Regions from separate parts of the Homo sapiens genome. Here region 1 is linked to region 2. The links are contacts of gene promoters, found by promoter capture Hi-C in blood cells and fetal thymus (Javierre and others, 2016). All regions are on one chromosome and are shown on one strand. Each heading gives the region's core, a stretch centred on a gene start or on the middle of the fragment in contact. The rest is flanking DNA. Distances are from core to core; before and after follow the strand shown.

Region 1 (6,392 bases), core at 3,024-5,523, 110 kb after region 2:
AGTGGAGCCCTAACTTAGAACTTGCTGGCTTTTAACTTTGCCAGTTGGTCTGGACCTGTGAAAATATTTATCCAATCCCCTAAGAAATCAGAGTAAAGATTTTCATGAAAACTTCTAGCCGGGCACAGTGGCTCATGCCTGTAATCTCAGCACTTTGGGAGGCCGAGGTGGGCGGATCACTTGAGGTCAGGAGTTCGAGACCAGCCTGGTCAACATGGTGAAACCTAGACTCTACTAAAAATACAAAAATTAGCCAGGTGTGATGGTGTGTGCCTGTAATATCAGCTACTTTGGAGGCTGAGGTAGGGGAATCGCTTGAACCCGGGACATGGAGGTTGCAGTGAGCTGAGATCATGCTACTGCACTCCAGCCTGGGTGACAGAGCGAGACTCCATCTCAAAAAAAAAACTTCCAAAACCATTTTTACATATTGGTTTATTTTGACTCTTGATCGTTGTGCCAAGAAAGTTGATTATGACTAGCGTTTCCATCTTACAAATAGGGAAATGGAAAACTCAGAAAGGTCAAGTGACTTCCCTGAGGTTGGTAAGGAGTGGTAGAGCCAGGATTTGAACCTGGGCAGTGTAGCCACAGGGTCCTCACTCTTAACCACTTGGCTAAACTGTCTTCATATACGTATGTATGCATGTGTTTGGTTCCCGGTGGTGATGCCATGGGGAGCATTTACCATGAGCGCAGTGGGAAAAGCATGGAGCATGCTGGAAGGCATGGATGCTTACATTTTCATTCCGGATTTGTGGATTTTGCACTAGGGTATCTGCTAGGCCATGAACTAGAATTGTGTACTGAGAGTCATCATTAGTTGGGTGATTTTTTTTTTTTTTTTTTTTTGACATAGGCACTGCTCTGTCGCCCAGGCAGTGGTGTGATCTTGGCTCACAGCAACCTCCGCCTCCTGGATTCAGGCGATTCTCCTACCTCAGCCTCCTGAGTAGCTGGGATTACAGGCACTCACCACCACCCCTGGCTAATTTTTGTATTTTTAGTAGAGATGGGGTCTCACCATGTTGGCCAAGCTGGTCTCTATCCACCCACCTCAGCCTCCCAAAGTGCTGGGATTACTGGTCTCAGCCGCCGCACCCGGCCAATTAGTTAGATCTTTCTACGGAAGAACAACTGACTTGCCAATTTAGTCTGTAAGATCAGGAGTTGAGGGACATTGGAACTACAGAAAAACATTATTAAAGATGACTCTTAAGATGTCAAGAGGAAAGAAAAATGACTTCTTCGGTCAAAAAAAGAGCAAAAGCTATCACGCTGTATGAGCCACAAGCTGAAGGCTGTCTTCTGGGGGCGGCTTAAATGCATTAGATTAGTCTGCAATGTGGATTAAGGGACCGTGGGATTTAATAACTTGCGTATTAAAGAATGGCTCTGCAAATGTTACCCTAACATAAAAATGTAAGCATTCTAATTGAATTTAGAAGCAATAGTATTAAAATTTCTTCTGGTGATGCTCCTTAGACGCATTAAATAAAATATCAAAAGTCACAATTGATTAAACTGAAACTTTAGCATGAGAGTTATTAAGCATTAAATTCTGCTGCTAGAGGTTTTTATTTTATTTTTTCCTGACATGTACTCAGAAAATTCTCCCTTTACATAATTTATGGTCATTCTGCTGTTTAAATGTGCCAAAAAATGTTCTCGGAGTTTTGGCAGTGTTTTGAAATAGAGTATATTATCTTAGTCTTGGGCTATATATATATAATGAACACTCAATATATATTGATGGTGGTGTTTTCATGAGTTGAAGTCTCGCTGTGGGCAAAGGAAGGAATAGGCTATTCTATTACATCTGATGCTTAGCCTGCCTTTAATGAGTAATGTAGAAAAATAGACCTCTTCTTCCTCCTATGGCAAGTCTGTATGTAGTCTTGCTAAGCTTGTGTCTGCCCACAAATCCTAATGAGAAGATGGCATTGATCGGAGATGGTAGCAAAGTACAGCTGGGATACTGCTGTCCATATGTTCCATGGTTCCAGAATTCCAAGGACTACAGACAGCCTTGTAGAAATCACAAAGCATGAGTGATAGTTATAAGCAAAGAGGTCTTCTCCTTTTTATCCAAGGACAAGCAAATGGCAGGGAGGCAGAAAGGTGACGTTTTGAATCTGTAGACACATAACGAGGAATGTGGTTGACTGAAAAGTGTCTATGCATTTAGGGCGGTGAGAGCAGACAGTTAGGGGCATCCAGGAAACCTCCTCCTCTCTTGCCTTTCAGGGTGTCTCCTGGAGTCCCGAGTGTGGCATGTTCTGCATTCAAGAGTATTGTGGAGGCCAGACGTGGTGAAACCCCATCTCTACTAAAAATACAAAAATTAGCTGAGCGTGGTGGTGCATGTCTGTAATCCCAGCTACTTGGGAGGCTGAGGCAGGAGAATCACTTGAACCTGGGAGGCGGAGGTTGCAGTGAGCTGAGACTGCACCACCGCACTCCAGCCTGGGCAACAGAGCAAGACTCTGTCTAAAAAAAAAAGAGTACTGTGGAATTCATTCTTATGTAGCTGTATGAAAAAGAAAACCAACATCATAAAATATGAGTACTAGTTTGAAGTCCATTACAGACAAATCACACCATTTTTATGTTAGACCACCCCAACCACTTCCCTTTTTTGTTTTTGTTTATTTTGACAGGTTCTCGCTTTGTCACCCAGGCGGAAGTGTAGTGGCACGATCTCAGCTCACTGCAACCTCTGCCTCCCAGGTTCAAGCAATTCTCTTGCCACAGCCTCCTGATTAGCTGGGATTATAGGCACTCACCACCACACCAGGGTAATTTTTGTATTTTTAGTAGAGGTGGGGCTTCACCATGTTGACCAGGCTGATCTCGAACTCCTGGCCTCAAACGATCCACCCACCTCGGCCTCCCAAAGTGCTGGGATTACAGGCATGAGCCACCACACCCAGCCTCCTTTTTGTTATTGCTCAGATTTACAGAAATTTATTTTGCAAAATTTTACCTCGAAGAAACAAGCGAGTGTTTCTCTGTATCCATCTGAGCTCAGGAGGATGCCCAAGTGAAAGGTGTTTAATCCAACTTCTGTTGAATGATTGACTTCTCAGGGACTGTTAATTTGTAAACTCTAAGAAAGGGGGAAAGTTTAAGTTTTTCCGGCTGCCAAACTTTGGGCTTCATGGTGAATCATCAGGACAGGCTTTCTAGGCCAAGTGTAAGCGCTGTTCTGGGGGCCACTGGTCTGAGGGTGGGGGAGCAGGATGTGTTTATTTAGATGCACGGCCAGAGTTCACACACTTGGGGTTTGGGATCAGCCTCCAGGGCCTAAGTAATTTCTCCCAGGAGATGTCTTCGCATCTTATACCCTGTATAGGATCATCACGGACTGCTGATTGAAGAAAAGGGTTAGGACCACTGATCAGAGAGAAGCTACGATTTTTTCTTTTCTGTCTGTCACAGAGGTGTCAGTAAAGGAGAAAGCTTACTTGAAAGGTTTGGATTACCGAGCAGCTCAAAAGAGCTGTTGCTGGCGGGATTTTCTCCTTGCTGAAGTTTTTCTTTGCCCCTAGAATACTAAGCAAAAAGGAAAGAAAAGATGAAAGGTAAGTCCCTCTTTAAAAATACATTGAGTCAACCCATCGCAGAAAAATACAGATTTCTCAACTGACAAATAAGCGGCATCACTGCATTTGGGAATCAGAAAAAGTCCCCACGATAAAGTTATTTGGGAATTAATCAACACTTGGCTCATCCTAGGCGTGGAGCGCTTCGGAATTCACCTCGTGTTGCTTGGAAGCTGGCAGCCCGGTTGTTATATAATGTGAACCCAGAGGCCTGCCAGACGGCCCTCCCTGTGCCCCGGGGGAGTTACAAGGCTCTGTAACTCTTGGAGTCAGTCAATCCTGCAGAACAGAGTCCAGGGGCCTGGTGTGTGCTGTGTTTTACAGATGACACATTAACCTTTGAAATTCTGTCCTCAGTCACCTTCATCAATGCCTGAGCGAACGAAGGAAGGGCCACATGTGGGCTCTTTTTTTGTTCACTTTTCCAAATGGAGATAAGACATGTAACAAAATTTACCATCTTAACCATTTTTAAATGTACAGTTCTGTGTTATTAAGTGCATTCCTATCGTTGTACCAGTATCACCACTATCCATCTGCAGAACTCTGCATCTTGAAACTCTGTGCCTGTTCAGTGGTAACTGCCTGTTCCCCTCCTGGCAGCCCCTGGCAGCCGCCCGTCTCTGAATTTCAGAGCCACTTTCTGTCCCTGAGTTTGACTACTCTAGGTACTCACATAAGTAGAATCACACTGTATTTGTCCTTGTGTATCTATCTGGCTTATTTCTCTTAGCGTAATATCCTCAAGGTGCATCTGTGTGGTAGTGTGTATCAGAATTTCCTTCCTTTTCAGGAGTGAATAATATTCCATTGTACGGATATACCATGTTTTGTTCATCCATCCATCCCTCCGTGGATGGACATGGGTTGTTTCCACCTTTTGACTATTGTGAATAGTACTGCCATGAACACAGTTATACAAATACCTGTTTGAGCCTCTGCTTTCTGTTCTTTGGGGTACTTTCCCAGAATTGGAATTGATGGGTCATACGGTAACAGACTCCTTTTTTAAAAAAGAAAAGTATCTTGAGAACTTGGGAGAGCCACCCTAGGAGTACTTACTGGGCTGGATTGTTTGCTCCGTCTCCTTTTGCCTCCAGGTACAGCCCATAGGCCTCTGTCCTCACAGATGTGGTATGGAAGAGTGGCCCTGTTCCAGGGTGAGATCACCAGTGTAGACCTTCTCAGTTTGACCCTACATCTGATGAACCCCCAAAAGCACAGAGAGGATCTCAGAATGAACTAAAGATCATGGGCTATAAATGACTCCTTCCTTCTCCTTTTCTTCCTTGGATGACAAAGATTGTGGTCACTATACAGTTATGGTGGCCTCAAGTCTGGTAAATCAATGATGTTTCATGTTAGCTGCTCACGGGATTCACCTTGTGGCTTATTGATGTCCAGACCCCGCCTCTGATCCCGCCTCTAGAGATTCTGATTTCATTGGTTTGAGTCCTGGCCTCAGCATGGGGACTTTTGAAAGCTTCCAGGCGAGTCTAATATGCAGCCAGGGTTCTGTAGCACCCAAGTGAATTACTGAACCCGAACCTTTTCTCAATCCCTTTCATGCTGTCTGTTGTCTTTTTGGTTATTTCTTTTTTCTTTTTCTTTTTTAATTTGAGATGGAGTCTCGCTCTGTCCCAGGCTAGAGTGCAGTGATAGGATCTTGGCTCACTGAAACCTCTTCCTGCCAGGTTCTAGCAATCCTCCCACCTTAGCCTCCCGAGTAGCTGGTATTACAGGTGTGCACCACCACGCCCGGCTAATTTTTGTATTTTTAGTAGAGACGGGGTTTCACCATGTTGGCCAGGCTGGTCTCGAACCTCAAGTGATCCATCCCCCTCGGTCTCCCAAAATGCTGGGATTGCAGGCGTGAGCCACCACACCCAGCCAGGTTATTTCTTTGGAGCATATCTTCAGATTTGTACATCTCAGCCCAAGGTTTAAAGATTTGGAAACAGGCTTTTCTGTGTGTGTGTGTGTGTGTGTGTGTGTGTGTGTGTGTGTGTGTGTGTGTTTTAATTAACGAGGATGCATTATGTAACTTTGGAGCTAAGAATGAGGAATGAGGATGCATTATGTAACTTTGGAGCTAAGAATGAGGAGACCTGGGTCATACTTGTGTGTGTGTGTGTGTTATTATCTAACCAGGGATAATGAATTATTTAACTTGGCAGGATCTCAGTTTGTTGTTGTTGGTTTTTTGTTTTTTGTTTTGTTTTTTTTTAAATCTTGGCTTTAAAATTAGGGCATAGATTGGCAAACCAGATAAAAGAATGAAATTAATGATTTTTTTAAAAATGTCCCCTCTAGCTCTGACATACCACGACTCTGAATGAACAGGTGGAATTGATGGGGAGTGAGGAGGCTTGGAGAGAGAGCCCCCGGGTGTGAACCCATCCTGTTCTAACAATAATGAGCTTTGGGATGAAGAGCCTCCCCGCAGGCAGGGGACTGCTGGGAGTTTCTGGTGTCCCAGAAGAAGCCTTCAGGGCAGCTCTGATCAGTAAATAAAAGGATACGAAATAAAAATCTCAAAGGATCCGTAATGAATAAGAAAGCAGGAATGTCGTCCCCAGGGAGAAATGAGTTGGGGGCTTTGTCAGTCACGAGAGAACATAGCACAGGACTCTGGGTCCAATGGAGCTGAACGTCAGCGCCTCTGTCCCCACGAAAATAGTAACTTCCCTGACACCATCCACCTGATGCCAAGAGCTGTTTATATCAACATTTCTTCTCGGGATTCTTTCAAACTTTATACTTACTTCTCTCCTCCTCTGATTCTAT
Region 2 (6,330 bases), core at 2,776-5,275:
TGGGAGGCTGAGGCCAGAAGATCACTTGAACCTGGGAGGTGGAGGTTGCAGTGAGCTGATATCATGCTGCTCCACAGAAGCCTGGGTGACAGAGTGAGACCCTGTCTCAAAAAAAAAAAAAAGAAAAAAAATGCAAGAATAACATTTGATTTTTAAAATGTTATAAAAAAGAGGCCATGTTGGCCGGGCACCGTGGGTCACGCCTGTAATCCCAGCACTCTGGGAGGCCGAGGCGGGTGGATCACCTGAGGTCAGGAGTTCGCGACCAGCTGGCCAACACGGTGAAACCCCGTCTCTACTAAAAATACAAATAATTAGCCGGGCGTGGTGGCGGATGCCTGTAATCCCAGCTACTTGGGAGGCTGAGGCAGGAGAATCGCATAAACCTGGGAGGCGTAGGTTGCAGTGAGCTGAGATCAAGCCATTGCACTCTAGCCTGGGTGACAGAGCAAGACTCCGGCTCAAAAAAAAAAAAACCAAAAAACAAAAAACAAAAAGAGGCCATGTCAAAAGCACATAGGAGCCAACCAGAAAGAGCTCCCAACAGCCAATGCTGGAACTGTCTGAGCAGCAAAATAAATAACATAATGTTGATTATAACTTGAAGTATAGAATAAATAAGCACAAATCCACACAGATATATATATATATATATATATATATATATATATATATATATTTGAATAAATATATATAGAGAAGGGACAAATCTTTTTTTTTTTTTTTTGAGATGGAGTCTTGTTCTGTCACCCAGGCTGGAGTGCAGTGGCATGATTTCGGCTCACTGCAACCTCCGCCTCCCAGATTCAAGCAATTCTCCTGCCTCAGCCTCCCAAGTAGCTGGGACTACAGGCGCGAGCCACCACGCCTAGCTACTTTTTGTATTTTTAGTAGAGACGGGGTTTCACCATATTGGCGAGGGTGGTCTCGAACTTCTGATCTCAAGTGATTCGCCCACTTCGGCCTCCCAAAGTGTTGGGATTACAGGCGTGAGCCACCATGCCCGGCCTTCATTTTTTAATCGTCAGAAATTCCTGTTAGTACACTTTTCTTTCAGAGGCTGTTTACAGAGGTGGGTCAAGACCTTATTAGTTTTTTCACACAGACATGGAGGATTAAAGAGATCATCAGAATGCCTCGAAGAGAATAGGTTGACAGTCTTCTTAGATTATCTTGGTGTGCCATACCCCCTCCTGCGTTTTGAGAACCCCTGCTTTCAGAGACTGTCACTTATCTGAGAACAGATGCTGTCACAGACATGCACAGCCTCATATTCTTTTCCTCTTTGTCTTATCATTCCTCTCTGGTAACTTTACTGTTTTGTTCCTCTTTTTGCCTTTTGTGTCCCACCCCCATTTAAAAAAATGTGATGATCAGCCACGGCAGATTGTACATTGTTAATGGAACATCATGACTGTCCATAATGATGATAGCAACAGCTTCAAGGCTCTTCGTAAGTAGATATTGCGACTTCATTGGTTGAGAAGAAACAAAGATACAATTCTTGCCAGACACTTGCTGAGGACAGGACTTAAAACCACAGTGCTTGGCCAGTAGATGGCGCGCCCCGCCCTCAGTGTGCATGACTTATGAATGAATATGCCCTCCCTATGCCCTGCACCAGCCCCTCCCGCCTCTGCTAGCCCCTCCAGCTCACTGCTATCAGAACCACTGTCTGAAGCGCAGATTGCCAAGGCCTGGCTTTAAAATGGTGTCATGGGGATTGAATTGGGGAGAGGGATTCTCTGTGAAGGCAACGGGTTGAACAGCAGAAGGGTTGAGCTAGAAAGGTGGCCGGGGAGGAGGGGCTTTTGCAGCCAACTGACTCGTCTCATTTGGCTGGAGTTGGGCTGGGAAGGGTAATGGACTAATGTGGGAAAGGTAGATCCAGAGCCTTGAACCTCCTACCAAAGCATTTTGACTTGCTCAGTAGGCCATAGAGAAGCCCTAAAAGGTTTTTATATATTTTTAAATTTTAGAGACAGGGTTTCAGCATGTTTCCCAGGCTGGTCTTGAACTCCTGGGCTCATGCGATCGGCCCACCTCCCCTCCCAAAGTGCTGGGATTACAGGGGTGAGCCACCGAGCCCAGCCAGGAATCACTAAAAGGTTTGAAGGTGGCAGGATGAGAGCTGTACTTGCACAAGATTAATATGACCAGGTTTGCGGATGCAATGAATGAAAAGAAAATGAGAATCCAATGGAGAAGTCACCTTACAACAGGAGGGGTGGGCTGGGCGCGGTGGCTCACACCTGTAATCCCAGCACTTTGGGAGGCCGAGGCCATCACCTGAGCTCAGGAGTTTGAGACCAGCCTGACCAACATGGTGAAACTCCATCTCTACTAAAAATACAAAATTAGCCAGGCGTGGTGGCCGGTGCCTGTAATCCCAGCTACTCCAGAGGCTGAGGCAGAAGACTTGCTTGAACCCGGGAGGTGGAGGTTGCAGTGAGCCGAGATCATGCCATTGCACTCCAGCCTGGGCAACAAGAGCGAAACTCCATCACAAACCAATAACAGCAACAAGACGGATGATGGAGGAAGCATATATGTGACAATTTACAGTTCGGGAAATTCAGAGAAGTAGCTCCTCAACAGTGTCACCCGTCAGTAGAATACTTCCTTCCAGAATCAGTGTCAGGAAATGTCCAGGAAGCCAGGAACTGAGCCTACACATCCCGATGTCCCAAGTGCATGCGCATGTGTGGCTAGCCAATCCCTTGCCTTCCTGCCTCTGGGAAGATTATTAGGTCTTCCATTTGTTTTCAAGTAAGAAGCAAAAAAAAAAAAAAAAAAAGGAAAAACAGCTTGAGTTTCTTTCCATATCACAGCCTTCCAATGTGTTATTATTCAACACTGCAGTGTCAGATTTAGATTTTCCACCTCGAGGAATTTGGTTTAGCTTTAATTAGTTGCTGTGAATATTTCTGAGCCAACTCTGGAAAGCATTTATCTGGAAAATAGTTTCCACTAAAATATAAGCTGGATATAGGGTATCATTTTCCTAGGAGGGTTTGTATCAGTTAACAGTTATAAATTCTCTCCAGCCCTCTGGATGACTTTTGCCACAAGCCCATCATCGTCATATTGGTTAATTACTTATTAATTAAACACAATTCAAAATACTGTATTGAGGCATCTGCATCGCCATCTAAGCTCTAGCTTCAGGACTTCAGAGCGTGAAGATTTTTCGGAGAAAAGATAACGCTTACAGGTTATTCTCATACAGGCAACTGATGCATTTTTCATCCGGCAACTTTTCATAAAAACAAGCTGAAAAATACCAGACAAATGAAAAACAGACTTCAGCAGTTCCATGCTGCTTCCTGAGTAACTGAAGAATGTGCTTCTTGTGGTTAAAATGAGAGATCTGTTTAATATGGATCAAATAGCAACACTCCAGGCATTTTCATTGACATTTCACTGTGACTTTTTGAACTTAGGAGTGCGGATACGAAAACCTACTCTTTCTTTCTGCTGCGCGGAGCCTGCACAATCTGCAGAAAGATTGCAGAGCCGGGCCAGGCGAGGTAACAGGCTACGTGGGGTTCATGTTCTCTCTGGTTGTTCCCTCCCCGTTTGTACTTCATTTCCATTCACACGGCTGCACTTCCCAGTTTTCCAGGATCTCTCCTCTGAAACCAGGCAAGGGTTTGTTCCCAAATCCCACCCATTGCCTCTCCAGCCCCAGACTTGCTTACTGGACCACACATAGGTGGTGGGCATTGGTGACTTGTCCCTAGGGTCAGGGGACCAGAAACTTCCCAGAGGGGCTGGATGGAGCACGGCAGCACTCAGGGCACAATGGAGAGCGGATTCAAAGGGCAAAGGAGCCGAGGAAAGCCCCTCTGCCCGAGCCTCCCCAGCGCCGGCCGGGCTCCGCTCCGGAGCAGCCCCGCCGTCTGGCAGAGACATGCTGTTTTGTTTAAATCCTCCACATTCTTTGCCATTTCCCCATTGGCCGGATGGGGCTACCCTCCCCGCCGCGGCCGCTGCTGATGTCAGCCTCGCTCGCGCTCGCTCCTCCCGCACCCACCTCCCGGCCCCAGGCACACTGCATCGGCGCGGACGCTCCGGCCCCGGCGAGGTGGCTGCAAACTCGCGGGCACGCACGGCGCCCGGGGAGCCGAGGGACTCGGGGGAGGGGACGCGCGCGGAAGGCGCCAGCTTCCTCCCGCCCGCCCCTGGCAGCCGCGAGCCGAGGTTGGAGGCGCCCGGGGCCCCAGCCGGGCAGAGCCGAGCGGCGGCGGCGGCGGCGGCTTCCCTTTTCTCCCCGAGCCGAGCCCCGGAGCGGCGCGGGGACCGGCCCTAAAAAGAGCAGGAAATCTTGTTTACCGCCCGCGGAGAGAAGCCGATCGAGCCTTTGTCTGGAAAGTCAGCATCTCCGGCTCCGGCTGCAATGTGTTCCTGGTGACATTAGCATCGGGCAGACCCGCCGGAGGAGGGGGGTCGCCAGGTTCCCGTCTGCTTTCGGAGGCGGATCGAGCGGGTGACTTTTGTGCATTCGTTTTAATTTTTGGAAATCTCTCTTTTTTCCTCCCTCGCTCGCTGCCGGGCATGTCCTGATCTGGCGGCCGCTCCTACCACCCTGGGCAGCCGAGCAGAGTCGTCCCCAGCGGGTCTCCCTCCCTGCCTCCCTGACTTTGCAACACCGCGTTCCGGGAGGACCGGCCTCGGCGAGGGAGGAGGCGGGGGAGCTGCGAACACCCAGACCCAAACCCTGACATGCTCTGGGGCGGAGAGGAGGAAGCCAGGAGCTGAGCGCGCCGCGGGGGCTGCTTCGCCCTCCGGCTCCGAGCGCCGGGCTCCGGGCGCCCTGCCCTGCGCCTGGGCAGCAGCCTTGCTGGTCTTGGGGGCGCCCCCCGCTTCCCGCCCCGGGGGTCCGCGGCCGGCAGGACCATGCTGCTGAAAGAGTACCGGATCTGCATGCCGCTCACCGTAGACGAGGTAAGCGCCGCGCCCGGCCCGGCCTCGCCCGCTCCGGGACCCCCGCCGCTACCGCCGCCTCCTGGCCGGCGAGCCCCGGGCGAGCGGCAGGAAACCCAGGTGGACGTTACCCCGCAAACCCGAAGCCTGGAGGAGAGGAGGGAGGGGATTTGCGGCTTCCACTTGTCACCCCAGCGGGGGAGGGCGGCGCTGGGTGGGGCGGCGGACTCCGGGTGGGCTTTTCGGGGGCGCCCAGAATCCAGACTGTTGGGGATCACTATGAGCCAAAGGGAGTGGGTGCGCCCCCTCCCTCCAAATAAGAAAATGAATAAACCAAACCCAAGAGCCCCCGGCGCGCGCTGTAGCTGGGGTTTGGGGGGCATCCCGTCCTGGCCGTGGGCCCAGCCTCCCCTCCCCGCCCTCTGCGGTCAGGTAGGGGTGCGAGGAGGAGCCCTGCGCCCTCGGGATCTGCACGCCCCGAGCCCCGCGGGAGGAACCTCTGAGCCCTTAGGGGAGGTCCCTGCGGGGCCCGACTTCTCGCCGTCGCCGCGGGCTTGGGCGCAGCTCCCGGCACGTCCGCCCTTCGAGGCTCGGGACCCGGCTGTGTCCTTTCGCAAACCGCCTGGCTCGGAAACTTTCTGCGTCTCTTGTTTCTTCCGCCGCGGGGAGCGGCGCGCGAGCCGGGAGCGGCGGGGGCTGCGACGCGGCCACAGGAGGGCGCTCCAGCACGTGGTGCCGGGGCCGCGGCTGCCGGCTGGGGGCGCCGGGCGCGGGGCGGGGGCTCGTCCTCCAAGCGCGGCTCTGCTGTCCTTCTCCCGATCCTGCGAAGCCGCGAGCTCCAGTATTCAGGAAGTGGTGACTCAGATAGGATTATTCCGGCCCCGGCTTCCCTTTCTTCCCCTTCTTCCTCCCCACCTTTGTGGTGATTCCACGACTGCTGAGCGTCTCTGTCCAGGGACAGCGAGGGAGCCCAAAGCCAAGCAAGGCAACGTGAAACTCACTAGTGTGGTTTGGTGTGGCAACACACATGAAATCAGCCACCCAGACCGTCTTTATATTTAAATCTGGTGCCTCGAAACTATCAGATATGTTTTTGAGCCACTACTTGGTGAGAGGGGCGATGTGCTTTGGGAGAGAAAAAGATGCATAACTGAGAACATGGCTGAGCTCACAGGGGCTGTCCGTATTTGCCATCTGGACCAAGGGTTAAGGTAAGACCCAAGTACAATCCAAGACAAGATCAAAGTAGCTGCAAGTTTACAAAACGCATCACGGGGACACAGGCTGCCAAGGAGGGAGAGATCAGCTTCCACCAGAATGAACAACCGAGTTTTGGAGTTCGTTGGCATTTGAGGAGGTAGCATTTAAGCAGGGTCTGGAAGGGTGGATGCCAGGTGGGTAGAC

What was found. The method cuts DNA at HindIII sites, captures the fragments that hold promoters and counts their contacts. A CHiCAGO score of 5 or more calls a contact.
Region 1: a fragment that was not itself captured here is called in contact with the fragment with the promoter of PITPNC1 in region 2 in 2 of 17 cell types (total CD8 T cells and naive CD8 T cells); the score reaches 6.4 in total CD8 T cells.

What each region holds. Positions count from the first base shown.
Region 1 is chr17:67,484,540-67,490,931 of GRCh38, forward strand. All of the region lies in intron 1 of PITPNC1 (phosphatidylinositol transfer protein cytoplasmic 1), which reads left to right. Among named protein-coding and RNA genes, the nearest start is that of MIR548D2, 16 kb to the left of the region's middle. RefSeq lists enhancers at 2,795-2,884, 4,734-4,973. The HindIII fragment of the contact is 1,626 bases long and covers 3,461-5,086 here.
Region 2 is chr17:67,373,256-67,379,585 of GRCh38, forward strand. It overlaps PITPNC1 (phosphatidylinositol transfer protein cytoplasmic 1), which reads left to right and starts at 4,026. Exons shown (of 9, transcript NM_012417.4): 1 at 4,026-4,947. The coding sequence starts at 4,900. RefSeq lists silencers at 1,590-1,669, 3,911-4,030, 4,081-4,330, 4,681-5,100, 5,111-5,410 and 1 more and an enhancer at 3,832-4,525. The HindIII fragment of the contact is 18,019 bases long and covers 1-6,330 here.